Linked DNA regions of Homo sapiens: all the other regions are linked to region 1. The links are contacts of gene promoters, found by promoter capture Hi-C in blood cells and fetal thymus (Javierre and others, 2016). All regions are on one chromosome and are shown on one strand. The core of a region is centred on a gene start or on the middle of the fragment in contact, and the rest is flanking DNA. Distances in the headings are between cores, read along the strand shown.

The links. Contacts are between HindIII fragments. The CHiCAGO score rates a contact against its expected background, and 5 or more counts as called.
Region 2: a contact is called between a fragment that was not itself captured here and the fragment with the promoter of GKN2 in region 1, in 3 of 17 cell types (activated CD4 T cells, total CD4 T cells and total B cells). The highest score is 6.3, in activated CD4 T cells.
Region 3: a contact is called between a fragment that was not itself captured here and the fragment with the promoter of GKN2 in region 1, in 1 of 17 cell types (activated CD4 T cells). The highest score is 5.4, in activated CD4 T cells.
Region 4: a fragment that was not itself captured here is called in contact with the fragment with the promoter of GKN2 in region 1 in 3 of 17 cell types (activated CD4 T cells, naive CD4 T cells and total CD8 T cells); the score reaches 6.6 in activated CD4 T cells.
Region 5: a fragment that was not itself captured here is called in contact with the fragment with the promoter of GKN2 in region 1 in 4 of 17 cell types (activated CD4 T cells, naive CD4 T cells, total CD4 T cells and 1 more); the score reaches 6.4 in activated CD4 T cells.
Region 6: a fragment that was not itself captured here is called in contact with the fragment with the promoter of GKN2 in region 1 in 4 of 17 cell types (activated CD4 T cells, non-activated CD4 T cells, total CD4 T cells and 1 more); the score reaches 7.7 in activated CD4 T cells.
Region 7: a contact is called between a fragment that was not itself captured here and the fragment with the promoter of GKN2 in region 1, in 5 of 17 cell types (activated CD4 T cells, naive CD4 T cells, non-activated CD4 T cells and 2 more). The highest score is 13.7, in activated CD4 T cells.

The regions. Positions count from the first base shown.
Region 1 is chr2:68,950,661-68,954,782 of GRCh38, forward strand. GKN2 (gastrokine 2) reads right to left here and starts at 2,233. Exons shown (of 6, transcript NM_182536.3): 1 at 2,190-2,233; 2 at 42-95. The coding sequence starts at 2,201. The HindIII fragment of the contact is 766 bases long and covers 2,072-2,837 here.
Region 2 is chr2:68,106,841-68,110,962 of GRCh38, forward strand. LOC105374789 (a long non-coding RNA gene) reads right to left here. Exons shown (of 3, transcript XR_940223.3): 1 at 3,487-4,122. Among named protein-coding and RNA genes, the nearest start is that of C1D, 46 kb to the left of the region's middle. The HindIII fragment of the contact is 981 bases long and covers 1,737-2,717 here.
Region 3 is chr2:68,311,470-68,315,591 of GRCh38, forward strand. All of the region lies in intron 2 of CNRIP1 (cannabinoid receptor interacting protein 1), which reads right to left. Among named protein-coding and RNA genes, the nearest start is that of CNRIP1, 6.4 kb to the right of the region's middle. The HindIII fragment of the contact is 5,380 bases long and covers 1-4,122 here.
Region 4 is chr2:68,338,806-68,342,927 of GRCh38, forward strand. It overlaps LOC102724389 (a long non-coding RNA gene), which reads left to right. Exons shown (of 4, transcript XR_940224.4): 2 at 3,484-3,553; 3 at 3,919-3,982. Among named protein-coding and RNA genes, the nearest start is that of CNRIP1, 21 kb to the left of the region's middle. The HindIII fragment of the contact is 3,612 bases long and covers 477-4,088 here.
Region 5 is chr2:68,389,135-68,393,256 of GRCh38, forward strand. PLEK (pleckstrin) reads left to right here. Exons shown (of 9, transcript NM_002664.3): 7 at 4,028-4,111. Among named protein-coding and RNA genes, the nearest start is that of PLEK, 26 kb to the left of the region's middle. RefSeq lists an enhancer at 12-61. The HindIII fragment of the contact is 1,194 bases long and covers 1,306-2,499 here.
Region 6 is chr2:68,410,984-68,415,105 of GRCh38, forward strand. No RefSeq gene overlaps it. Among named protein-coding and RNA genes, the nearest start is that of PLEK, 48 kb to the left of the region's middle. The HindIII fragment of the contact is 2,729 bases long and covers 388-3,116 here.
Region 7 is chr2:68,427,535-68,431,656 of GRCh38, forward strand. No RefSeq gene overlaps it. Among named protein-coding and RNA genes, the nearest start is that of FBXO48, 38 kb to the right of the region's middle. The HindIII fragment of the contact is 1,753 bases long and covers 1,384-3,136 here.

The sequences.
Region 1 (4,122 bases), core at 983-3,482:
CAACATCTCTAAGAGATAAAGTCCATAAGGAACCAACTCACCTCGTATCCATGAGATTGTATCCCAAAGATGGTCAGCACCACCAGAAATGCCACCTGAAAAACAGACCCACCACATCCATTCTTTATAGGGTAGTCATTGAGTGTGGGACAGGAGGAAACACTGGACAGGAAAGGCACAGATATCTCAGAAAATGTACACCTAGAGACACTGAGTGGCCACAGATGGTCAGCACTCCCTTTCCACGCACACATTGATTGGCTCACACATTGGCTCATTTAACAGGCATTTGTTGAGTTCATTCTATTTGCCAGACACAGGGTGCTACAATTGCCACCTAATTCCCAACTCTTTCTAGCATTATAACCATGTAGATAGTAGGAGAAACCCGGGGCAGATGAGCAGTGAAGGATTCATTTCACTATGGAAATACTCTGGTATGATTCACACTAGCTTTGGATAACAGTGGTCAAATTGTGTCCTCTAAAAAAATAATTAATTAATTAATTAATTTTAAAAAACTTTAATCCCTTAAGACTGAGAGGGTAATACAGATTTAAAATGAATCATGGGTGATAAAGACCTGACAGGTTCCTAAGGGAAACTATGAAAATAGAATGCTTGGGAGCACAATTAACTTTTGAGGCTGACATCAAGTAAAACCCCCATATTCTCCTATGCCTTAGTGATACTATCACACAAGTGCTGGGCCCACAGGTCGTGAGCTGACATTGAAGCAGTTCTGATATTTTGCTGTAGTTCTGTAAGAGTCTGTTCCAACATGCTAACCCAGGTTTTGTACCCTCTCTTCTGAACATCAGTGAACTGTACTATCGCTGAAAACTACATCAGTACATAGTTGACTGCACTGTCATTTGAAAACTGCTGATGAAAGGAGTCTTGGGGAAGGGGGATATTTTTAAGAACTGTCAGTGGGACTTTCCTACTTCCCTTTCCATCCCACCCTTAATATTTCTCTTCTGGGGACTGGGAGTAGAGCATCTAACAAAGACCTGTGTGCTGATATTCAGCCTTCCATAGGGATACATCTTCTCTTACCACAGACCAGCTCCAGCAACATATGATACTCCCGTATATTCTAGTTAATGAGTCTAAAATAGTGGTTTGAACAAGTAGTCGAAGGACTAAACCACTTTAATGGTATGATTAGAGAGAGCTTGGGGAGTGTCCTCTGCCCCAAAATGATCTCCCTTCCAACACTGTGGTTAATACACCATGGTTATATAATACTTTTGTGCTTCAGGGTTAGGTCTCAATTTGGAAAATCAAGACAGCCCTGAGAGAGGGAGCTCTTTAAGCTGATAGTCTTTAACACTTTAGAAAGAGGTACTTAACATTTTGCTTTCTCCCTTAGCAGCTGAATGAGAATAAAGGACAGAGACTAGGGGAGCGAATTCCATTCTAGGTCAGAACATAGCCCACTGTCCATGGGGCACTGCAATGTGGAACTACGGAGGCTGGGATCAGATGGAGGGGTGGAGTGGCCATAGAAGGAACGTTTTGTCCTAAGGGAGAATTTAGTCATAATGAGAGGACATTGAAGACACTCTGGCTGCTTAAATTTGCCATGATTGCGCCTGCAAGTGGGGATTCAGATGGATAAATTACATTCTAAATCCCACATTTACGGGCTTGGGAAAATCACATTCCTCTGCCTCTCAGTCTCCTTATCTGTAAAACGGGGAGAATACTACTCAACTCATAGGGTTGTTGCAATGAATAGATGAAATTATTCATGTGATATGCTTAGTCTAAGGCTTAGTATGCATTTGAGAAATGAGAGGTACTATTATTACTATTACTGATATTATTTTTAAACTACAGCTTCTCTCTTAGATAGCAAATGTAGTTGTTTTAAATAGCCCAAATTCCCTATGAAGCTCATAATAAAGGATTATTATTAAACATCCTCCAAATCAAAATTATCTAGAGATTTCTTTGTATTTTTGAATTTTCTTTTAAGTAAACATCTCAAAACAGGAAAAGGACAAAAAAAGTCAGACTTATTCAACACTATTTCTGCCAAAGATGTCATTAATTCAATCACAGAAGCTTAGAAGCATGCACAGTATCTGTCTAAGACTCCCAAAATCCATGGCATATTAGATATGAGCATTGTCTGCAAGCAGTCACCACAAGAGTATCAAGAAGCAGAAACAAATACTCACAAGTATTTTCATTTTGCCTGGGAGAGGAAGGTGCTGGAGTAAGTAAAGCTGCCCTGTGCAGCTTCTATCCTTTATATGGGCTTGAAGATGTGGATATCTCTTTTTCAAATGATCACTTTGGAAAAGACCATGTCTATATCTCTGACACACCCTAGCAAACTCCTTTATCAGAATTGAGATCCAACCACATACCTGATATCAATGAAGTTCATTAGTCAGTAATGAAAATTCACCACTTGGTCACTCTGTAAATATTCCCTGCTATTTGTACTATGCTGCACTTGACATTTTAATTTCCACCCTTTAAAAATATTGCATGATGCTTGTTCTATGCATACATTTTATAGCTCTACAAGGACAAACTTCTAACATCTCCTCCTAAAGGAAGAGTGCTTCCTTAAGGCCTGAGTTGGGCCCCAACTCAATGTCTTTTCACCACTGTTCTGCTGGCTGAATTCTTCCACAGAGGGAACGGATATGAGACGGGGTGCCAAGACAGTGGCTGGGGAGGCCTGCTTGGAGAACAAACAGCCTAGGACTTTCTTCGTTCTTCCCTTTAGATTTGGTGTCAATTTCCAGAAATTAATGAGGAACAAGACTCAGAAAGCATTCTCCCCAATTACCAAGTTTAACCAAATTTTTACATTAAGCTTCGCCCAAAACTGCACAAAACTGTAAGTTAGAGACCTCTAGTTATCTTGCAGAGTATTAAGAAATTCTTAGATTGAAAAAAAAAAAAAAGAGAGAGAAAGAGAATAAAGTTTAATTTGTGTAATTTTTTTAACATGACAATTAGAAATGGCTAGTTAGTGTCAGGGTATAATCATGAACTCAGGAAGGGAAATTTAAAAACAAAACAAACAACAACAACAACAAAAACAATAAACTGCGGCTGGGCGCAGTGGCTCATGCCTGTAACCCCGGCAATTTGGGAGGCCAAGGCGGGCAGATCACCTGAGGTCAGAAGTTTGAGACCAGCCTGGACAACATGGTGAAACCCCGTCTCTACTATGGTGAAACCCCGTCTCTACTAAAAGTACAAAAAAATTAGCCAGGCGTGATGGTGCTCGCCTGTAGTCCCAGCTACTCAGGAGGCTGAGGCAGGAGAATTGCTTGAACCCGGGAGGCAGAGGTTGCAGTGAGCCAAGATCATGCCACTGCACTCCAGCCTGGGTGATAGAGCAAGATTCCATCTCAAAACAAAACAAAACAAAAAACCCCAGTAAATTGCAAAATTGTAAAATATTGAGAATCACCACAGTAAACAAAGAGATAACATAAATAATGGCCTTGTTCTATAGCTGAAACAACTTTCTAACTTTAGCAGCTTTAAACAAAAATGGGGTTCTCAAAAAGTAGACATCTGGGCAAGTTAAGGGTTACCTAGTTCACTGGAATCTCCCTACCCTGGCTGTTCAGTGGGGGTGGATGTAAAACACGCAGCTTTATTAAATCTTTCTCAGATAGTAGCTGCAGAAAGGATTACAGTTTTCTAAGGCACCTGCAAATTTTCTCTCATATCTGGCTTCAGAGACTCAAAAAAGCAAACCAGCAATGCCCATAGACATTAGGGCTAATGAAAGTATCACATGCTATCCTCTACCATGTCCCCCTCCCGTCCTCAGGAGTTCTGGTTCTATAGTCTAATAATGATTGTTGCTAGTGTTTGTAGAGCACTCAATATGTTTCAACACTTTCCAAACACTTCGGATATATTGATTCATCTGATTCTCATATCAACTCTAGAAGTTACCTTCTAACCTGTTCCATTTTACAGGTAGGAAAACCAAGGTGCAGGGAAGTTAAGTAACTCTTTGAGATCACACAGCTTCGAAAGGCAGTGTTTGGGATCTGAGCCCAATTTAACTCCAGAGTCCACACTCTTAATTCTGAAAATGATACAGCCTCTCCTTGCCTTGCTGAGACAGGAGCA
Region 2 (4,122 bases), core at 977-3,476, 840 kb before region 1:
CCAGCACTTTGGGAAACCAAGGCAGGAAGATCACTTGAGCCCAGGAGTTTGAGCCTAGCATGGGCAAGATGGCAAAACCTCATCTCTACAAAAAATTTAAAAATTAGCCAGGTGTGGTAGTGTGTGCCTGTAGTCCCAACTAGGAAGGCTAGGATGGGAGGATCCCTTGAGCCCAAGAGTTCAAGGCAGCAGAGAGCTGTGATCACACCACACCACTGCACTCCAGCCTGGGTGACAAAGTGAGACCTCGTCTCTATTTTTTTAATTACAAAAATTTTATATATATATAATTTATATATATATACTTATATATATATATCTACTTACCACTCAATGCTATGTATACATATATATATAGAGAGAGAGAGAGAGAGATGTTATAATTTTTCATTTCTTCATTTTATTTCAAATGAGAAAATGAATGCCATTTCTGATTTTCCAGGTCACTTTATAGTCTCTTCCATGCACATTTTCTAAGTAAATTTTTTTTATCTTTGAATTTTCTTTAAAATGCTACGTGTCTAATAATTACAATGTCTAGAATCTGTGGGGTGTGGGTCTATATCTGTTTTTAGTTTCAGCTGACATTCAATATGTATTCATTTCCTAGTGAGTTCTATAACAAATTACGACCAAATTGGTGACTTAAGACAACACAAACTCTTTCTCATACAGTTTGGGGTCAGAAGTCCAAAAGCGCTAAGCTAAAGTCAAGGCTGATTCTTCTGGAGGCTGTAGGAATGATGTTCCCTTGCCTTTTCTAGCTTCTAGGGGCTTCCATCATTCCATGGCCAATGACCCCTTCCTTGCATCATTCCATACTCCAACCTGTTGCATCTTCTACTTTATTTATTTATTTATTTATTTATTTATTTATTTATTTATTTTTGTAAAATGAGATGAGGTCTTGCTATGTTGCCTAGGCTGGTCTTGAACTCCTGAGCTCATGCGATCCTCCCACCTCAGCCTCCCAAAGTGCTGGGACTACATGCATGAGCCACCCTGCTTAGCCAACATCCTCTACTTCTGTAGTCACACTTTCCTCTGCCTCCCTCTTATAAGAACACTTGTGATTACATCTAGGACCCATTTGGATAATACAGAATAATCTCTTCATTCAAGATCCTTAACTTAATCACACCTGCAAAGTCCTTTTTGCCATGTAAGGTGATACTAACTAACAGTGCAGTGTGACAGGCTGCCCTACCAGGTTACTTAAAAGTATATGCCCGCTGCCTGAACCCTGAAGGCCAGATAGTAAGTCACGGCCATGGTACCCAGCTGAGGAGCAGGTGTCCCTGAGAGCCTAAACATCCCAGGGAGTATGTGAGAACCTACCAAAGAAAACAGTACCATCACACAAACACAGTAGGCAAAGAGCCCGAAAATTAGCTTAACAGCAGCTTAGAGAAGGGAGGTGGCACAGATCTCTTGAGCTGTGCTGCTGCCACTCAGGAGTGCCCTGCCCTGTATGTCTCAATAAACTCATCTACTTGCCAAACACAACTTCCCTAAATCATTCTTTGGTCTTTCGGCACCTTCCCAACTTGGGAGGGATAGGGGATGTTACAGTCTCAAATTTTTCTCATAACACACGGATCCAGGGCTTAGGACTGAGATATTCAGGGGTGCCATTTTCTAGCTCATTACACACTTACTGTGTCAGAGACTCAGTTGACAACAAGCATCCATTCCCCAACTCCCTTGCTAGTAAGGAAAATACTAATTTTTAGTCAAGCTTATTGTTGGCCAGTTAAAACTCCCTAGTTTTTGTTCACATCAAGATGTGATCATTGTGGTTAAATTTTTGACAATAAATTTTAAGTGGCAGTACTGTGTGCAAACTTCAGAATGTTTTGGTTTTGTTTTTTTTTAAATAGGCCTGCCCTTCATCCCTTTCCTTCCACAATTGGCCTGGAATGTGAGCATCTGGAGCTCTAGCTGCCATCTTGGGTCACAAGAACAAGGAGCATAACGTAGATCTGAGATGATTCATAAACTGTAAAGAAACAGGTCCCTGATGAATTTCTGATGAATCTGTCCTGGACACCTATCTCATGACGTCTTTTAGATGAAAACAAATAAAACTGTGTGTGTCTAAGCCACCATTATTTGTTTGTTCTGCTGTGTGAGGCTAAACTTAGTCCTAACTCATATCATCATTATGTCTTTTGTTTCTTTGTATATTTGGGGATTTTTTCATCATAATTATCCATTTGGTTTCACATAGTCTATAGGAATCCTGAAATCCTGAATTAATGACACCTTCCTCAAAAGGGATTTGAATTTATATATTTCTGGAATTACGTATGCTAACAACAAGGGACAGCTTTAGCCTCCTTAATTAGGACACAGGGCCTGGCAGCAGCCTCAGAGCTTAGCTTTCAATCCCTCATTTGTGACTGACACTGGCATTTCTCCTCCAAGTTTTGCAGTTTGCTTACCACTCAATGCTAGCTTTAGCTTACTATGCATGTTTGCATGTTGTTTTATTTTGTTTTGTTGACATTGGAAAGTTCCCTTTGTTTCTTGTAAGAGCTCAACGTATTTAAAAAAAGTTATAATCTGATTATATTGCCATTGTAGTGGAATATTACTTCAGAGTCCTGTTCACCATTCACCCAGAAGCGGCACTGACGCCCTTCCCATGCCAGTTTCACCATTAGATGTGCTACGAAGGCTTTATGTCAGATTGACCCATCCAATACTTTGATGCAAGCTTGGTACAAGCAGAGCTCTTCTGAAAATAATATTGTTACCACTTTCTATGTGGTAACAATTCACTCATGTATTTGTACTGGGGATTCGGTTTGCACTCATTACTATTATTTTCTTTTAGAGTTTCTGGGACCTCTTTCAAATTACACGAGTTCATTCCTCTGCCTGCAAAGATTCGGACCCATCCCCAGGGATGTGTATAATACAATTCTACTAAGGGAAATACACTATTACTCTGCAACTTGCTTTTTTAATTAATAATATGTCATTTTGCCTTTCAGTACTTATAGTCACCTCATTCTTCCTTCATAGCCGAATAGTATTCTGTGGTACATACCACAATTTATTAAACAATTTTACCATTGATAGACCTTTAGGTTGCTTCCAATATTTTGATATTATTAATACTGCTGTGCTATAATAAGCATATATATACTTGTATATGTGCACATATTTCTGAGTAAATTTATACTTATTGGTTCAAGGGGTATGAATATTTAACATTTTGATGGATGTTGCCAATTTGTCTCCACCAAAAGCCATGCTAATGTAATGTGTTTGTGACAGAGACTACTAATGCCAACTTAATATTAATTTTCCCAAATTCTATACTGAAAGAATCCCTATTTTATTTCAGAGCGGTGGTATGCCTAGCCAAAGGCAACATTTCACAGTCTCACTCTGAGCTAAGTGTAGTCACATGACTAACTTCTGTCCGCTGAACTATGAATGAAAGTGTCGTGTGGGGTGTGCTGCAGTGCCACTTACTGGAAGATGTGCCACTTTCCACCCTTCTATCTTTATTCCTTCTTCAAACCTTCTCAGTGGTTTGATGGCAAGGTCCTTGCAGTCATCATGAACCATGAAATCATCTTGAGGATAGGGGTAGTGGAGAAAAAAGAATGGAGCCTGAATCATGGAGAGACACTATGCAACTTTAGACTACCTACAGCTTGACTTTCATTATATGGGAGAATTAACCCATTATTTTCCAGGTCTTTGCTACATGCAGGTAAATACTATTTCTAAATAACACAGCACCCCTTTCAATCATATAAACAATACACCAGTCCCATTGAGTACTTGCTGTGGTCCCCATCATGTGCTGTAGACTGTCACCGCAGAGCCCTTGCTCACTACCACAGTGGCTGTTCTTTCTGCATGGGTCAGTGCAACCAGGTAGGTGGGCTTGTACATTGACTCCTCATCCTTTCTTTCCCAATTGGTGACCTCAGTTCACAGGACTAGTAGAACAAACTTTAAATTTTCATTTTTGGCTCAGATCATCTAGGGAAATTAGTCTACACAAATACACACACACACACATACGCACATCCAGTACATACAGAAAACCAAATGGCTTTTCAGAATCCACAAATCTTCCCATACTTGAAGCAATCCTTA
Region 3 (4,122 bases), core at 1,027-3,526, 640 kb before region 1:
GAATAACAAGAGTGAAAGAGTAGGTCGGGCGCGGCAGCTCATACCTGTAATCTGAGCCCTTTGAGAGGACAAGGTGGGCGGATCTTGTGAGGCCAGGAGTTCGAGACCAGCCTGGCCAACATGGCAAAAGCCCATCTCTACTAAAAATACAAAAAATTAGCTGGGTATGGTGGTGCGCACCTGTAATCCCAGCTACTTGGGAGGCCGAGGCAGGAGAATTGCCTGAATCTGGGAGGCAGAAGTTTCAGTAAACCGAGATTGCACCACTGCACTCCAGCCTGAGAGACAGAGTGAGACTCCATCTCCGGGGAAAAAAAAAAAAAAAAAAAAAAAGAAAAGGATCAAAGAGTAAAAGAGTAGACATTATTAGAGATCCTAAGACACTGAAGAATGGCGGAGATTATAAACAACTTTATGGGAATAAAGTTGAAAATTTAATTGAAATAAATGACTTCTAAGATAAATTACAAAAACTCAGGAAATAAAACCTGAATAGCCCGATATCTATTAACGAAATTGAATTTGTAATAAAAAATCTTCAAATAAAGTATAATCTATGCCTTCATTGGTGAATTCTGACATTAAGAAAAATATCATTTCTATATAAACTCTTCCAGAAAATAGAAGAATGAACACTTTCCGAATCATTTTATGTAGCCAGCATTACTCTGATACCCAAAACTAGACAAAGGCATTATAAGAAAAGCAAACCATAGACAAATATCCCCCCCGGAACATAGATGTCAAAAATCCTTAACAAAATATTAATGAATCAAATCCAGTTTTACATACCGAGAATAAACCATGACCAGTGGTATTTAACCTGGGAATTCAAGGTTATTTTAACTTTGAAAAAGCAAGGTAATCTACCATAAACAGAATAAAACACCTTATGATCATTTCAAAAGATACAGAAAAACTATTTGAAAACATGTTATAATACGTTCATGATTAAAAAAACATTCAGTAAACCAGGAATAGAAGAGAACTCCTTTAACCTGATAAAAAGATTTACAATAAAGAACCTTACAGCTACTATACTTTGTATTGAAAAACAGAATGCTTTCTCTCTCAGACTGAGGGACAAGAATGTCCACTCTCACCATTTCTATTTAGCAGCATACTGCGAAGGTCCTAGCCATTGCAATTAGGCCATAAATAAAATGAATACAGATTGGAAAGAAAAGAGAAACTATTTACAGATGACATGATAGCATATTTAGAAAATCCTAGGGATCCTCCAAAAACAGCTATTAGGATTAGTGAGATTAGCTAAGTCTCAGGATTCAATATCAATATACAAAAAAAATCGATTTTATTTCCATATACCAGCAAAGATTCCATTTACATTATTCAAAAATATGAAATAATAAATTTAACAAAATATGTATAAAGTCTGTAGAGGAAATACTGTAATATATTGTGGAGAAAATTAAAGATGACCTAAGAGATATTTCATGTTCATGGTATAGAAAACTCTATATTAAGATGTCAAATATCTTTAAGTTGACCTATAGGTTTAATGGAAACTCTATATCCCAATTTTTGGAGGAATTGACAAGCTCATTCTAAAATCTATATAAAACACAAAGGACCTAGATTAAGCAAAAGAACTTAGAATAAACAAAGCTAGAAGATTTATGCTACCTGTTTTAAGGACTACAATATAGATCAAACAAGATTGTTTTGGGTCTTCTATGTCTTTGGAATTTCCAAATTAAAAAGACATACATTGAGTATGTAAAGCAACTAGAATTCTCATACACTGCTGGTGGATATACAAAATGGTACAACAGTGTGGATATTTCTTACACAGATAAACACATACTTACCATGTGATTTAGCAATTGTCCTCTTAGGTATTTACTCAAGAGAAATGAAAATATGTTCACACTGAGACTTATACTCAAATGTTCACAGCAGCTTTATTCATAATAGCAAAAGCTGAAAACAACCCAGATGTCCATTTATTGGTAAAGGGAGAAATTATGGTATATCCACACAACATAATATGCTACCCAGAAATAAAATGAACCAACTACTGATATGTGCAACATAGGTGAATCTCAACATTATACTAAGTGAAAGAAGTCAAACAGCACTGTTCCATTTACATGAAATTCTTACATAGTTAAAACTAACATATTGAGATGGCAAGCTCAGGATAGGTTAGGTTGGGAGGAATTAACTGCAAATAATTTTCAGGGTAATAGAAGTGTTCTGTTATCTTTATTGGGGTGGTGATTATATAGTAGCATCTACTTGTCAAAACCTATGTAACTGTAAAGTTGGTGCATTTTATGTTAATCATATCTCAAAGCTGATTTCAAAAACTTCAATGATTTCCTATAGTCATTAGGATAAATCCAGTGGCAAAAAGGTTCTATATCATCCAACCCCTACTTACCTCTCTGGCTTTATCTTATACTGTCTTTGCCTCACTCTATGCCCACCATGTTGGGCTTCTCATCCATTAGAATACATACGCTGTCTCCAGCTCTTGACTTTTACAACTACTCTTTCCTCAAATGCTCTTTCTTTCCTCAACTCTTATTCATCCTTCATTTTTTCCTCAAGAAAACCATCCCGCAAATCTTGGACTAGGATAAGACCCTTGGTATATACTCTAACAGCACTACTTTTTTGCTATACTTTTCATATTAGCAATTATTTACCTTATCATTGATAATCATGTATAAAGTATGTTTCCACCCTCAAGATCAGAAATTCTATGAAACCCGGGTTATCTATTTTGTTCACCACTCTTCCCCCTGAGTCCCTGATATACAGGAAATCCTCAAATATTTGCTGATAAAGCAAGCAAATTTTAAAAATCTAAAAATTCTAAATAAAAGAGCATATAGAATTTAGCAATATATTAATAATACATGTTTAAGTAGGGCTTATTGTAAAAAATAAGGTTTAGTATTTGGAAGTGTATTACTTTATGTAATTCATCAAATATATCAAATAAGATAAATTATCTCCAACTACTGCTACTAGCTGTAGTTGACTGCTAGCAGCAGTCAACATTATTCTAGAAACATTAGACAATGCAATATGACCAGGAAAAAAAAAGACAGTTATATTCAGATTCTGACCATCTATATGAAAAACCCAAGATGATTTGCTGAAAAATTTTAGTAAGCAAGTTCAGTAAGGTGGTCAGTTACAAAGTATATGAATACATATTATAAAAACAGTGTATCTAAAACAATGCAGTATTGGTGTAACAATAGATAGATCAATGGAATAGATTAGGGAGTATAGGAGGAGATAAAATTTTTGCAATATAAGAAATTTCTATGAAACTGACCTTTGGAGAAGCATAGATTATTTAAATAATTGTATTAGGACACTGTGGGCAAATACTTTCCAATATAAAAGTAAGAACTGAAATAATATCTAAATCTGTAATTCATCTAAAATTTAACAAATGAGACCATAAGAGTTCAGATGAAAATACACAAATGCCACTGTGTATATGTCTATATATAATTAATTAATCTGGGAGTCAAGGAAGACTTTCTAAGCTGGATCTTAACTGCAAAATAATAAAGGAAAAGGCTAACATGTTTGACTACAAAATTTATATTTTATATTGTAAACAAAATAAAAATTAAAATATTAAATGAACACTCAAGATGTGATAAAAATGACGATTTTAAATTTATAAAGATTTTTCAAAAAATCAATAAGATACACTTAAGCAGAAAAATGGGTGAAAACTATGAACATATAATCCATGAAGCAAATACAAATAGTAAATGAATATGTCAGGATTTCAAATTAACAGTAAGTAAAAATTGAAGTATTTCAGTCAGATTAAAAATATGTAAACATGACAAACTATACCTAGTGCAGAGAGAAATGGATACTTAAATACAGATGATAGGCGTGTAAATTGCCTAGCTTTTCTGGAGGTCAGTGAGGCAGTCTTATAAAATGCCTTAACGTGCACATTTCTTCTAGAAATCAAGAAAACATTAGACAATTGTACAGTACTCAGTGATTTGTAATGTGGTTTTGTTTATAATACCGAAAACCAGAAATAATCAGCAATAAGTGACTGAGGATAATTTGATACATTCATAAAATACAATACCCATACAGACTTTAAAA
Region 4 (4,122 bases), core at 1,033-3,532, 610 kb before region 1:
GTCCCAACTACTAGTGAGACTGAGGTGGGAGCATTGCTTGAGCCCAGAGGTAGAGGCTGCAGTGAGCTGTGATTATGCCAGTGTACTCCAGCCTGGGTGACAGAGCCAGACCCTGTCACAAAACAAAACAAAACAAAACAAAACAAAACAAAACAAAACACATCATCCACAGTGGTAGTTTGTGGTGGATATCCCGGTATCCACAGTGGTAGTTCATGTTGGATAACCTTTGTAAGTTCCAGAGTAACAATAGTGTCTGACATAGAGCTCCCAAGTCCATTGGAATTTCCTGGGTGATAGAAACATCTTTTGTTCTAGTAAGCTGACTCTTGATGTGCTCCTGGATGTTGAGGTTGGTCACCAGAAGGACCAAGCCATGATTAGACAATTGGAACTTTTAGCCCTACTCCTCCACCCTCCAGGAAGGAGACAGGGGCTAGAGACTGAGTTAATGATTGATCACGCCTATGTCATGAAGCTTCCATAAAAATCTCTAAACTATTGGGTTCGGAGCTAAGCAAGTGGAGGTGCCTAGAGGATGCCATGCCCAGAGAGGGTCTGGATGCTCCGCTCCCCTTCCCATATACCCTGTCCTATGCATCTCTTCCATCTGGCTGTTCATCTGTATCCTTCGTGATATTTTATATAATAAACCTATAGACGTAAGTAAGTGTTTCCCTGGGTTCTGTGAGCCATCCTAGAAAATTAATTGAGCCTGAGGAGGGGGTGCAACTTGGAGTCCCGAATTTGTAGCCAAATTGGGCAGAAATTGTGGGTAACTAGACTTGTGATTGGCACTTGAGGTGGGGTGCAGTCTTGTGGGAATGAGCCCTTAATTTGTGGGATCCGACTCTACTCCAGGTAGATAGTGTCAGAATTGAATTAAATTATAGGACACTAGTTGGTGTCTGCTGAAGGGTTGATTGGTGCATGGGGACAACCCCCCACCCCCCGTCCCCCTACATTTTGGCAACCAGAGGTGAAGTATACTGTGTACTGTGTTGACTGGTAAGGAAAAAAAGACATGTTTTGTTTCTCTGATACTCAAGGCAACTATACTGAAGATAACAATTTTATGTTCAACAAAACAAAAAATGCCTAAGCAAACAAAATCCTCAAATAATAACAACAAACAAAAACACCTTCCTTAGAAACCAGTATGAGATGATAAATATGCATTTCTCTACCACATCCAAACATTTTAAATTAAAGGATTTATTACAGGCACGGAAAAAAAAATGTGACTGACATTGTACTGCTTATTTGAGGAGTTATGTGAGAAAACTTGAGCTGAACAGTATGATTTTTATTTATCCTTATGATGTCTAGATTGACAGATAGACTAATGTCCTAGAATATTGTTTTTTGGGCCCATCCCCTGTTTATATGTCTCTTCTCATGTTCCCATAGTGAAAAGAGATCTTCCCTATAACTATATTCTAATATTAAGTTCTTATTTGGTGGAAATTTGAGAGAGAATTAAATATGAGTTCTTAAAACACTCTGGACCTCTAAATGGTTACACTCTATTTTTTATGTTTACCTTTGCCTTTATTATACTGTGCATTATGCTTATTTTATTAGTGGTGACATAAGAATTTCCATGAATAATTTCTGAATGAGCACTTGCAAATGCTAACTACTACAGAATCAGAGATGAGAGAACATGAGCCTTGGTACTAGATGGACCTGGGTTTCAATCCCAGCTTTGACATTTATTAGACTTTACAGAGGTTCTTAGCCTCTTTATGTCTCAATTTACCCTTCTGCAAAATGGAGATGTTACCTTCCTGGGATGCACAGATTAGGTGCTCTATAAATATGGCTCTATAGAGGAGGACATGGGGGTTGAGAAGAGACAGAATTTGCATTCTCAAGGGCATTTACCGAAGAGCATTCTGGAGTGAATCCTAAGGGATGAATCTGACTTGCTTTTTGCCTGCTTTTTTGTAGCCGTGACAAACTATGTGTTCCTCCCCTACTGCCTGCCTGCCTCTGCTGTTACCATGGCGATCCAGGTTCATTTTAGGAGTCTGTGACAGGACAGATTGGCTTTTGCAATTTGTAAAAATCTCACTCTCTAAAAATAAGGACCAGGCAGCCAGGGTGGCAGTAACAACACGGTGTTGGGTAGATTTTCTGCCACCTCTCAGCTACACGGTAGTAGTGGAGAACCTATTGTCAGCTTGGCATGCTGCTGGATTCTGGATCTCTGGGTTTATCTGGGGCATAGTCAACTGACTGATAAATTATAGCAGTTAAAGATTACCATTAGCTTTTCAGTTTCCCTCCCTTCAGTTTCTTTTTTTACACCGCGTGCCCTCATGTTCCGCCCCTTTCTAGTATCAAACACCTGCTCTCAGATCATTCATTCTTACCAAGTAGACACAGTAGAAGTCACTTAGTGGGCAATAAACATAGAGATTCCTATAAATTGATTTAAGAAAACTTTTTATTATGGAAAATTGCAAACATGAAAAAGTAGACTGAACTCATCACCCAACTATAAGAATTACCAATTCATGACCAACGCACATTCCCATGCAATTTCACTCTTGCCTATATTTTTGAGCAAATCTCAAAAATTGTTATTCCTTAGTTCATAAATATTTCAATAGAACCTCTAAAAGATGAGAGTTGGGTTTGTGTGTGTGTGTGTGTGTGCGTGTATGTTTTTAACACGACCACAGTACTATTTAAATTGACCTTGGAGATGGTCTTTATCACTCTTGGAGGAGTTTTAAAGAAAAAAATTATTTTCTTGCGCTTCTTCTAGTGAAGGTTTAAAGGCTGCAAGAACTTCCCTCCTGTAACAAACAACTAGAAAATTGAAAAAGTATATATAACAAGTGTTTTCAGACAGTGGACAACAGGCAACATAGGACTGTGAAACCTGGGAGGAGGGAAACCAATAAGGTGAGCCCTGTGATGGTTGCAGCTCACTGTCAGGAGCCAACTCAGGGCCACCGGGCAGGAAGGAGAACTGAAACAGAGCCTGGCCGACTCACCAAATTAAGGAAGAAGCAATCAGGGTTAGGGGGGTCCTGGCTAGGATTTGCAGGGCGGAATATCAGTGAGGAAGGGAGGGCAGAGGCAAGGACCTTGCCTTTTTTCACATAACAATGTATTCATTCATTCATTCATTCTTCGTTTAAAGATTATTTAGAGAGTTCCTCATATGTGCCAGGTCCTGTTCTAGATGCTGGGGTTGCAGCCTACCTAATGATGTATTGTCCATCACCAGCAGTAATTCCAGGTATCATACTGGGCATTCAACCAGTAAGACACAATGGGATTGAGTCTAACACTAAGTTTACTCTGTAGATGGGAAACAGCATGCAAACGTCTTTGATTGCATCAGTAGTCCCAAAACTACTTTCTGGGAATGCAGTTACCATGAACCAGGTCAAGGTATGTGTAACTTATTTTGAAACAGAAAATGTACTTCCCTAATACTCCACTTGCCTTTTGATATGATTTCAGTTACATAGAGCCAAGATTTAAGTGCCACTTTGCTGCTCTTCCAGTAAACAAGACAGATAACCAACTCATGGTATGTAATATTTGACATTTATGCAAGGGAATTGTGCTTTCAGAAGGCAATCCCGGGGTCATCTCTCCAAGCAGGCCTGCGGTTTACCCCTTTAGTCACTGGCATACTTTTGATGGGGATACACACAAACCCAGGTATATCATCAAGACAGTAATGATAAATATTATCATATGGTCAATAAAATAGAAAGAGATAGAGGATGATGGAAGGTGCTGCTTTATACCTTAGTGAGGGGAGTCCTTGTGTATTTATCATTTGCACACAGCTAAGTACATCCCTAAGACAATTGTTCAAAAGCAGATTTGCTGAGTCAAAGTATATGTGCTTTTATAATTTGGTAAATATTGCCAAATTTCCTGTTGCAGAGTTGCTCCATTTTGCATTTCTACCAGCAATGTGACTACTCTCCCCTACCTTCATCAACACAAGGTACAATCTAAGTTTTGCATTTGAACCATTTGATATGTGAAGAATAGCATCTCATCATTCCGTTGTGCATTCCTTTTATTATAAATTGCATCACACATTTTTCACAAGCTTAAGAATCATTTGAACTCTCTTTCTTGTAA
Region 5 (4,122 bases), core at 653-3,152, 560 kb before region 1:
GGTGCCAAGGCATATGATGCCAAGAGGTAAGAGATGGACAGGGGCCAAGATGACTGAGGAAGCCAGGACCAGTACCTGGTGGAGGAAGTCGCAGGAAGACATGAGAATATTCAGGGGGAAGCTAGTTGATACTTGCACAAGGCATCTTAGAGGCCAAGGCTGCTTTGCAGGACCAAGGTCTTGCCTTCCTGGCTGCACTGTGAGCTGCCTTAAAAGTGCTGCTCAGTATATAATGGAGAGAATCTGTTGCCATCAGGAGATTTCCATGTACTGTCTATAGGCTCCACGGGACTGGGGGATCTGATTTATTTCATGTTAGGACCCTGAATGTCCATCTTAGTGATTAATGGAATGGGCAAGGAGGGAAGAACCAGAGAAGAGCCCATATTTACATTTATAAAGAGGGACTCTGGGCTGGGATAGCTGAAAGGAGGTATAGGTATGGATTTTGAGTTTCACAGGGGGAAGTGGGACATTCGAATGGAAAAATTACCTTCATATCAGGTTTTAAGAGAACAGTGTCCTAAGAAATATATGGCAAGAATTTATAAAGAATTCATGGACTATTATAGTATTTTTTTATGACAGGGTGACCAGCTGGCTAGATTAAAAGAAAGGCATGGGGCAGAGCCAGCCTTATGCCGGGAAGGCTCGGGCAGTTGCCTACGGACAGTTTGCCCGCTGCTGCTTTCTCGTTGGTTTTGCCAAATATTCCTATGTTCCTGGCTCTTTGATTGCAGGTGCTGGAATGTGGCTGTTAAGACAAGAAGAGTAACTTGGGAGGAAATTTCTTTATTTTGTTGATTTCTTCCATAATTCTATATTGTTATCAGTTATTTCTTGAATTAGTTGATTGGGCAAACCCTAATCTAGAATGGGGCTCTTGGAAAGCCAAGGATGAAGGCTAACAGTAGATAAAGTTGGGACTGGACTGGAGCCACGTCTCAGTGAAGCAGCCCAGTAGGAGACCTGGGATGGTCAAAAATTGTGTGTGGGTAATGAGTGTCTGGATGTATTTTGAAGACAATAGGGACAAGGATTGAACTTATGTGTTTTCCTTTGCCTTCCTTTGTCTGGCCTTTGATAGGTACAATTTAGCCTTAGCTAGCTCGGTTGGTGCACATTTGGATCTCCCAGGGAACTGTTAAAACTGCATGCCAGGCCAATTTAATCAGAGCCTCTGGATTTTTACAGCTCCCAAGTGATTCTGATGTGCAGCCAAAGCTGAGAACCACTGAGCCAGCCTTTTTCTTAAAAGCTAATTTATTCTATTATCAGTATACAAGTTAAATAGTCTTTCTTAGAAGCTTCCTTTTTATGTGAAGAAAACAGAAATCTACGTGCATTCAGGAATTTTGTTCTTTTACAATATTCTTTCCTCTGAATTTTTTTTCAGAGGTTGGGGAGCAAAAACCTCTTCGATTTGAATTGACACTTCCCCTTAATGTTTCTAATCTCTTAGCTCAGTGGTTAGTAACCATAGTTTACATCAAAATCACCCAAGGGATTTTCAGAATTTTAAAAACTTTTTCTTAAAATTCCAAAAGTAAGCCTCCCTTGTGTTTACTGCTGGGAGTTAGCCAGGATTAACTTCATAGAAGGCTTGTTATAATGGGAAGCCTCACAGATGGGAAGTAGCTGTGGCTAACTGGAGGCCATTATCCCTGCCCCATTATTTTCTCATCCCAGGATAAATAATCCTACTTGGCAGCAAGTTTGAGGATGAATGATCTTAGATTATATTCAGTATAATCCCTTTTTACATAATTGTTTCTGTTATGACAATGAATAAAGCATCTGCTTGTTTAATTCTCAACCACATTTAGATTCCTTGAGGGAGAGGAACAATGTGTTATATATGCTTCTCTTGTATCTGCTGCAGAGTTCAGCATCCTTCTTGATTTATCATAGGCAATGAACACTTGGGGAGCTAATTAAGTCAAATATAAGTAGATGGCTTTGACAGTTCAGTAACAATTCTTGGAAACCTGAGGCATACATGCATTTCTTAATACTCCTTAGAAAATGCTCATTAAGTGAAAGATGACCAGAAATGTACCTGCTAACTTCCAACTCTTCAACACGTCACATTGTGATGTCAGTGAGGGCTTAAAGGGAATATGGTGGTTGGCTGATTTCACATCCTCCTGTTACCTTCCTCTTCCATTGGCTCATAATAAGTTGGTGATTGTCCAGCAATTGCATAATACAGCATGACATGTGTGTCTGTCAGTGAAGAGGAAATGGTATGGGGTGGCAACTTTAGTGTCGTTATTCTGAAGGGCAACATTAGTTAAGGCAAAGAGCAGCAATGTATACTTTTGGAAGTCTATGCTTTGCAAAAGCCATTTTGGACATGATATAGCAGGTAGGAATATTTTCTGTCCTTGCATATGACTCTGCAGGGGTTCCAGCTCCATCCTTCAGGAAGTAGAAAGTTCTTTGGAAGTGAGTTCCTTCACCAAATGTTTTGCCAAAAAACTTAGGCCCATTTCTGAAAGCTTCCTTGAAGCACCTCTGGATTTATGAAGGAGGCACTGTTTGCTAAGACCACACATGTTTTATTGCTTTCAGCACAAGTAAAATGAAAAATGTTGGAAAATTTGTATACATGCTTGCCAATATGTGGTGCTTTAGAAATTACAAATAATATTTCTTGTATTGGCAAGATAGAAACTCCGTATCTTTTAATATAATACTATTTTTGGCTTCTGGAGTTAAGTCATTTGAATTTCCTGTGGGAAATCATAGAGTCAGGTTTACCATGACAGTTTAAAATCTGCTACACACTAATGGAAATAACTTGGTAACTCACAGCAAGTACAAACAGATATGAAGCAGCTGCTATATGCCAGGCACTGTGGCCCTGGGAAACAAAGATAAGCAAGACACAAATCCTGCCCTTAAAACTCAGTCTAGACAATGTCAGTGTTTAATTCTGTTGGGAAAGGCCAAGTCGTCACCTTCTTTCTTCTTCTTCTTTCTTTCTTCCTTCCTCTTTCCTTCCTCCTACCTTCCTCCCCCTTTTCTCCTCCTCCTCCTTCTTCTTCTTCTTCTTTCTCCTCCTCCTCCTCTTCCGCCTCTTCTTCTTCCTTCATCATGTCTGTTACAGCAACAGGCATTTCCATTCCTACTGCAGCTACCTAAGGTTTAGTTCCTAATGATTTTATGCCTGGATTATTGTGATCCTTCCCTAATGAATTCTTTTTTACTTACCATCTTTTCCTGGGCTTTCCTTTAATCTAGCCAGCTGGTCCATCCTGCACTTTGTCACCATATTAATCTTCTTAAAATGTAATTGTAATTCTTTCACTTCCTACTCAAAAGCCATCAACAACAAACCCTGCCTTTTATTTCCACTAAATCTCTGTCCACTTTTCCCACCTTGCCTCTGCTACTCTTCATGAACCCTACATTCTAGCCAGACTGGTCTTATTCATCAACACCTGAGTATGTCTCTTGCATTCCCACTTCTGCTCTTGTGTTGTCAGTTGTCCTCCTACCCACCTTTGTCTTGCCCATCTAAATCCTGTGTCCCACATGGATAAGTGCAGGTCTTTATGAGGCTTTCTTTGATATCCAAAGCCCACAATTACATATTCCCTACTTAATGCCTTTGGAATCCATTATCTATACCAATTATTTGATTTGGGCATTTGCTACTTTATATTTCAACATAGGTCATAAACTCTTTAAAGATCAGGGCATCTTAAACCTCTTTATTCCCCCTACATTACCTAACACAGCACATTGTACCTAGTACTGCCTTATATCATACTAAAACTGGAAGACAATAATTAGAAATAATTTAATCCACCTCTTCGATCTAATAACATCCATATTATTTATTGGCTGTAGCACTATCTCCCTGACAAAGACCTAGGCCGGGATATTGTTATCCTGGAGTTAGTATTTCATTTTCTCTTTCTTTTCTCAATTCAGCAAATAATTATTCTGTAGGTATTGTTTGTACAGAGTGATGCTGGGAATTCACCATCCCTTCTTTTAATGTTGATCCTGGATACAGGGGCATAGAAGGAAAAACTGGAAAGTGAGGAAGTTCATCTTGAGAGAAGACCCTGCCTACCTGCACTACTATGACCCTGCTGGGGTAAGGTCCTG
Region 6 (4,122 bases), core at 502-3,001, 540 kb before region 1:
TGCAACCTTTAAAAAAGGATGAGTTCATGTCCTTTGCAGGGACATGGATGAAGCTGGAAACCATCATTCTCAGCAAACACAGAAAGAGAAAACCAAACACCACATGTTCTCACTCATAAGTGGGAGTTGAACAATGAGAACACATGGACACAGGGAGGGGAACATCACACACCAGAGCCTGTTGGGGGGTTGGGGGCTAGGGGAGGGACAGCATTAGGAGAAATACCTAATGTAGTTGACGGGCTGATGGGTGCAGCAAACCACCGTGGCACTTGTATCACTTGTATACCTATGTAACAAACCTGCACGTTCTGCACATGTATCCCAGAACTTAAAGTATAATAATAAAAAAAAGAAAATATATTACTGATTTAAGGAGAGATATTAAGCTTCTCTTGTAGATACACACAGAAATATACACACATACAGTGGCTAAAATTCTACCCGTAGAGAACGGTTTCCAAAAGCAGAATGAGGAACTTCCTTGGGTTAAAATAGCAACAGTGAGCCAGGCAAGGTGGTATATGCTTGTCAGCTACTTGAGAGACTGAGATAGGAGGATCCCTTGAGACCAGAAGTTCAAGGCTGTAGTATGCAATCATCATGCCTATGAATAGTTACTGCACTCCAGCCTGTGGAACATGGTGAGACCTCATCTCTAAAAAACAAACAGACAAAGAAAACCCTAGTCTCTTCGTGTTTGTTTGTAGCAAGCTAAACAGAGGGTCATCATCATTTCTTTTGGATGTTGTGTGAAACCTGATATAGACAATCCTCATCAGCCTTAGGGTAAAAAGAAAATCACTAAAGTAATTACTTAATATTTTGGATTCCATTTTGGGTTCTGCTTTAAATAAGGAATTTCAGAACTGCAAGGTGTATTGGGAGATGTCATAGAGGAAAGCGTAGAAGAAAGAGAAAGAAAGTTATGAGGAAGTTAATTTAGCTTCTTTAAAAAAATAAACCTAGTGTGAAATTATAGCCCTCAGTGGTTTTGGCTCAGTTTCAGGGTAAAGGGAAGGTAAAATTTAGCTGTCACTGAGGGAGAAAAAAGAGGATGGGAGGAGAGTTTTTCTAACACCACATTTGCTATTTAATTTGAGCTGCAGTAAGTTTCAAGGGGAAAATGCACAAGGCTGTTAATGGGAGGTCAAGTGGTAGAGTGGGAAAGGCAGTGGTCTTGGAGCCTGGAGCCTCAGTTTGAATTCCTGGTTTTACTGCATTTGTGACATATCTTGAGTATCAGTTTCTTTGTCTCTAAAACGAAAATAGTATTCTTCTCATAGGCTTGTTGTTAGGACTAAATGAAATAATACCTGTAAGTCACCTGAAATGGGTGGCACTCCACAAGTTCTAGTTTCCTTTCCTCTGACCCCTCTGCTGTAGAAGGTACTCATGGCAATCTACACTCTGTAGTAGTGGCTTTCAACTTTTGGTCTATGTCAGAATTGCCTGTGGAATTTTTTTCATGGAACTTATGCCTGAGGCCCAACTTTAGGAATTCTGATTTCCTAAGCATGCGGTAGGGTCTATATACTTGCACTGCTGCTTTTTAAAAAAATGATCGGTAATTTCTACCAAAATTAAAGTTAAAAACTACCGATAAATTGCTTGACTCTCCACTGCTTACAGTTCAGACACTGATGCAATAGCCTAGCATTTAAGGGCCTTCACAAACTGGCCCTGACTTCCCTTTCCAGAAGGATTTCCCCTCTGCTCTCCTTCACTACAGACATACTGGCCTCTTGTTGGTCCTTGGAGGATTGTCAGCTTTTGCAACCTTGACTTGCCTATATAACCCCATGGCCTAGAACATTCTCTGCTCCAGCTCTCTGTTTCTCTTATTCTTCTTTTTTCTTGAAGGCTTAGCCCTCCCTGTTATTCATTGTACTTTTCCCCACTTCCATGATAGACCGTCTGCCACAGAATATCTCTACCATCTATTTGCACCAGGCATTTACAAATAGTCACATATCGTGTTGGATGTTTTAGGGTTGGTGTTTTTTGGGGTCAGAAAAGTATTCGTGCTTCATAATTTTTTCAATCCTTTCTGATGCTTAACATGGTGCTTGTGCATAGTGGGTACATTATCAATAGCTGATGGAATGAAGTAATTACTGTTATCATGAGGAGGCTCCTTATACAGGAATACCTTGTTTTACTGCATGTTGCTTTATTGTGCTCCTCAGATATTGCTTTTTTGTTTGTTTGTTTTTTGTTTTTTTGTTTGTTTTTTTTTTTTTTTTTTTTTTTTTACAAATTATAGGTTTCTGGCGACCCTGCATGGAGTAAGTCTATCAGCACCATTTTTCCAACAGCATGCACTCACTTTGTGTCTCTGTGGCACATTTTGGTAATTCCTGCAATATTTCAAACTTTTTCATGCTTATTATATCTGTTATGGTGATCTGTGATCAGTAATCTTTGAGGTTACTATTGTTATTGTTTTGGGACACTATGAACCATGCCCATCTAAGTCCACAAACTTAGTAAATATCTGTTGACTGCTCCACTGATTGGCTGTTTCCCCATCTCTCTCCCTTTCCTTAGGCCTCACTATTCTCTGAAACACAACAATATTGAAATTAGGCCAATTAATAACTCTACAATGGCCTCTAAGTGTTCAAGTGAAAGGAAGAGTCGCACATCTGTCACTTAAAGTCAAAAGCTAGAGATGATTACTCTTAGTGAGGAAGGCGTGCTGACAGCTGAGACAGGCTGAAAGCTAGGACTTGTGTGCCAGACAGTTAGCCAAGTTGTGAATTCAGAGGAGAAGTATCTGGAGGAAATTAAAAGTGTAACTTTAGTGAGCACATTAATGGTAAGAAAGTGAAGCAGCCTTATTGCTGCTATGGAGAAAGTTTTAGTGGCCTGGATAGAAAATCAGGCCTGGCATGGTGGCTCGCACCTGTAATCCCAGCATTTTGGGAGGCCTAGGTGGGCAGATCGCCTGAGCTCAGGAGTTTGAGACCAGTCTGGGCAACATGGTGAAACCCAAATAAAAAAAATACAAAAAATTAGCCGGCTGTGGTGGCATTAGCCTGTGGTCCTAGCTGCTTGGAAGGCTGAGGTGGGAGGATCTCTTCAGCCTGGGAGGTCAAAGCTGCAGTGAGCCAAGCTTGTGCCACTGCACTCCAGCCTGGGTGACAGAGGGAGACCCTGTCTCAAAAAAGAAAATCAAACCAGTCATGATATTCCCTTAAGCTAAAGCCTAATCCAGAGCAAGGCCCTCAACACTGGGGCAAGACTCTCCACCAGCAAAAAGATTGTGACTCACTGAAGGCTCAGATGATTGTTAGTATTTTTTAGCAATAAAGCACTTTTAAATGAAGGTTCGTACATTGTTTTCCTAGACATAATGCTATTGCATACTTCATAGACTACAGTGTAGTGTAAACATAACTTTTATATGCACTGGGAAACCAAAAAAATTGTGTGACTCCCTTTATTGTGATATTTCGGTGGTTGGAACTGAATCTGTGATATCTCCAAGGTATCCTGTGTATTGATGTGAGTTTAGGAAGATCACTGCAGCTGTAATAGCAAATCTGTCCTGTCTGCTACCACCAGCCTACATACTTTATGTTAACTCAGTTAACTTTCATAACAACCTCAGGTTTTACCATATTATTCCCATTTTACAGATGAGGATATTGTGGCACAGAGAGGTGAAGTGACTTGTCCAAGGTCACACAGCTAGGAATTGACAGAGTCAGTGTTCTAGCCCATTCTGGCTGATCCCAGAGTTCATGCTTTTAATTCCCATTTTAAAATTCCCCTTCATTATATCAGCTAGAGTTTAGTTAGTGCTCACTGTGAGTGCCAGGGCCTTGCTCTATGGCATAGAAATTTCTCACTTAATTTGCACAACAATCACGTGAGGCAGCTTCATTCCCGTTTTACACGTGAAGAAAATGAGGTTCATCAGCTTGCTCAAAAGCCCTAGGCCAGTAGTGAAAAGAGATTCAAATCCAGGTCCACCTGGCTTCTGAATCCATGCACTTAAGCACTTGGCTCTGTTGTGGGTCTATTTAGTTCCTACCAACTTTTGGCTAGCTATCTTGTTGCCATGGGAACCCCTGGCTTATTGTGCCCACCACTCATGTCCTATCAGCTGCAGCA
Region 7 (4,122 bases), core at 1,010-3,509, 520 kb before region 1:
CCTGTAGGGTAGAAATTGTACATTATTTCTAATGCATTTAGTAACTAAGTCCTTTTTGAAAGTTCTTGTAACTACAGGCTCTGCTTGAACAATAGCAATACTATATCTATGTGTGAGAGAATAATAACATTCCCTGGTCTGGTCTTGTTTCTTTAATATCATCTGCCTTCCCTGGCAGATGTTTCCTAGAATTTAATAAGAAAACAACCGTTTACAGAATATGTAGTCTAGGTCAGGAACTCGGTTAAGTACTTTTCAAGAATTGTTTTATTTCACCCTCACCCTATCCCTTTGAGATAGTTCCTTTTGTTATCACCATTTTACAGATGATGACACTGAGGCTCAAAAAGGTGAAGTAAATTGGCCAGGGTGACACAACTAGGTAGGATAGCAGAGATGGGATTCAAACCCAGAGTTTGCACTTTTAATCAGTGCTGTTTTCTGTCCTTCCTACTCATACTCTTCCCAGGAGTATCATTCTAACCTATTGCTGCATTTAGCATGCACGGTACCAGGAATTCTCCAGCCTTCTGGGTTGCCCTTTGCTTTGGCATCCAAATAAAGTAACTCCAGTCTTGTACAACTTTCTGTGGGAAAGCTGATGACCTCACCAATTTTCCCCCAAATTCTCGAGAGTAGAGGAGAGAACTTATATTATTTTATCTGTTCTCATTCTAAATTCTTCCTCTTGTATTAGTTCTCATCACCTACCCGATGACATAAAGCAGTTACTGTAATTCTCTGCATACAGCCTCACCCTGCACTTGCACATAGCTCTTCTTCCGTTCTTCTAAACATCACTCCTCCAAAGGTATGAAGTGGTCAGCTGGTTTCTCTGGAAAGCAGCTGAGACAGAAGTAAGTGGAGGAGGTTTGATGAGAAGGGGAAGGAGTAATCCCATGAGAGATAAAAAAGGAAGGAAGCAGAATTTGGGCAGGAAAATCCTTCGGACTGCAATGCAAATCTGACACCAGGGTTGGCCTTGAAAGCAAAGGGCAGTCTTTCCTACAGACAGAATTTGAGTGGGACACCTGGTGATAATATGTGTATGGACTCATACACAGTGATGAATGGCCTGTGCAGTTGTTCAGGGGCCTTTAAGGAAAAAACTGTAAGTTCAGAGACAGGAAGTCTAGTTAACTTTTAAAACGAATTCTATGCTAAATTCCAGGGATATCCAATCTTTTGGCTTCCCTGGGCCATAATGGAAGATCAAGAATTGTCCTGGACCACACATAAAATACAAGAACACTAACAATAGCTGATGAGCTAAAAAAAAATCACAAAAAACTCTCAGTGTTCTAAGAAAGCTTATGAATTTGTGTTGGGTCACATTCAAAGCAATCCTGGGTCATATACAGCCCACAGGCCATGGGTCAGACAAGCTTGGTATACTCCTCTAGCTCTGGCTCAACTAAACTCAAAATTCCTTTCTTCTCGCAATAAAACCTGGCACTTGATAAGAAAAACATTGGCTTTCATAACTATTATCTCTAAAGTTGACATCAATTTTTTTGCAGCTGAGTTCTTCACTATTCTCTGAAGGGGCTAAGGGAGTAAGAAAGATTGCCAGGAATAAAAAGTACTTCTGACTTATTTTAAATCACTATCTTGCAGGAATTAATTATATGATTTTAATTATGTGAAGTTTAAATTCAGGCAATATTAATCAACATTTATAAAAGTCAGAATAGAGATTACTTTTGGAGGCTGTGGTATTGTGATACATTAAGAATATAAGAAACATATATTAGGTCTTCATCCCCATTTCCTGGCACATAGCTCCTAAACACTTGTAAAATCCTGGATGATAAAGGCAAGAGGAATGTCTTTTGTTATCTATATTAATTATTGTATATTATTTCATCATATGTGAGTTTGTTTTCATGAAGTGACTCTTGGAGGCTGGTGGTTATCAGAGGAATCACATGGTTGATTACAGGGTTGGAACTTTCAGCACTCCCTCCCTCCCCCAACCTCTGGAGAGGGGAGAAGGGCTGGAGATTGAGCTCAGTCACCAATGGCCCATGATTTAGTCCAGGGTTCCCCAACCCCCAGGCTGTGGACCAGTACCAGTCTATGGCCTGTTAGGAACTGGACTGCAAAGCAGGAGGCGAGCAGTGGGTGAGCAAGGATTCCCGCCTGAGCTCCGCCTCCTGTCAGATCAGCAGCAGCATTAGATTCTCGTAGGAGTGTGAATCCTATTGTGAACCGAGTATGCAAGGGATCTAGGTTGCGTCATCCTTATGAGAATTGAATGATAAATGTAATGTGCTTGAATCGTCCTGAAACCACACCCCCCATCTGTGGAAAAATTGTCTTCCATGAAACTGGTCCCTGGTGCCAAAAAGGTTGGGGACCACTAATTAGTCAATCATGCCTACCGAATAGAAACTCCATAAACCCCCTAACTGACAGGACTTGGAGGACTTCAGGTTGGTGGAAACACAGACCTGCTGGGAGGGTGCAGCATGTGGAGCAGGACGGAACCTCTCAGCTCCACCCTCATACTTTGTCCTGTGTATCTCTTCATCTGGCTGATCTTAAGTGGTATCCTTTAAAATAAACTGCTAATTGTAAGTAAAGCACTTTCTTGAGTCCTGTGAGCCATTCTAGCAAATTATCAAACCTAAAGAGAAGGTCATGGCAACCCCCAATGGATAGCTAGTTAGCCAGATGGACAGGTCACAGTTTGGGACTACTGACTGGTGTCTAAATTTGGTTTCAGCCTTGCGAGGCTGAGTCCTCAACCTATGGGGTCTGCACTAACTCTGGGTAGTTAGTGTCATGAGTAAATTGTAGTACACCCACTTGGTATCTGGAGAGTTGGAGAATTGCTTAATGTGAGGTAAACTCCACACATTTGGTGTGAGAAGTATTTTGAATGTATGAATTTTTCTTTCCTTTTAGGGGTGCAGTGTACAAATTGGGCAGTTGCAGGAGGGAATCATAGGCTGCTGCTGGGATGTGCTATGACTTGGTCTATGAATTAGCTACACTCAATTAATATGTGGAAGACAACTCTTCAAGCTGTACACTTAAGATGAGTGTACTTTTTGCATTTAATTGTATATTCTTTCTATAAAAATTATTGTATGAGTTTCCTATTGTTGTAACAAGTAACCACAAATTTAGAAGCTTAAAACAACACAAATTTATTATCTCACAGCTCTGGAGGTTATAAGTCTGAAATGGGTCTCGAGATGTTGGGAGGGCTGCATTCCTTGATGGAGGCTGTAATTTTCTAATTTTACTATTCACTTATCTTTCAACAGATGCTCAGTGATTGTCAGCCACTAAAAGCCTCTAATTACAACCTATCTGCACTTCTAATTCCACCCTATTCTCCCCATGCAGGTAGATGACTAGGTTAGGCTTTTATTTTCAAGAAGGCTAAAGAATAAGGTACATTCAGCTTGTTAAAGGCATATTCAACTTATTGATACTATCCTGTTGCCTATACATTTACAGACATTCATGTGACTATCATTATTATTAGAGAGAATGTTCTAATCATTCTCTCTCTATAAAGGTGTTTTCTCAGGGCCCACTGTATGGTTAGAAATTGGAAAAGACCTTCCAGTTTCCTTCACAGATGATTCTCCTCACATTCTCTCCATTTGCTTTTTTAATATATTTTTTGAGACAGGGTCTTACAATGTTACCCAGTCTGGAATTCAGTGGCGTGATCAAGTCTCACTGCAGCCTCAACCTTCTGGGTTCAAACAATTCTCTCATCTCAGCCTCCCAAATATCTGGAATTACAGGCCTCTCGATATATTGTCCAGGCTGGTCTTGAACTCCTGGGCTCAAGTGATTCTCCCATTTCGTCCTCCCAAAGTCTTGAGATTACAGGTGTGAGCCACTGTGCCTGGCCTTCATTCAAATTTGCCTGTGTATTTTTTTATTCTTGACAAATGAGTCAGCAAAGTTGCAAATGTCCCCTTATTTGACTTGGTTCAGTGTTTCAATGTCATTCCAAAACAAAGATGCCAGGGATGCTGTTCCAAAGTCTGTGGTCTCTATGTGTATGGAAGCACTAGTGAGGGCACGCTATTTCTCTTTCTACTCAATCCACACACTGGGATGATGGCTACAAATGCTCATTGTGTTACGGGATCC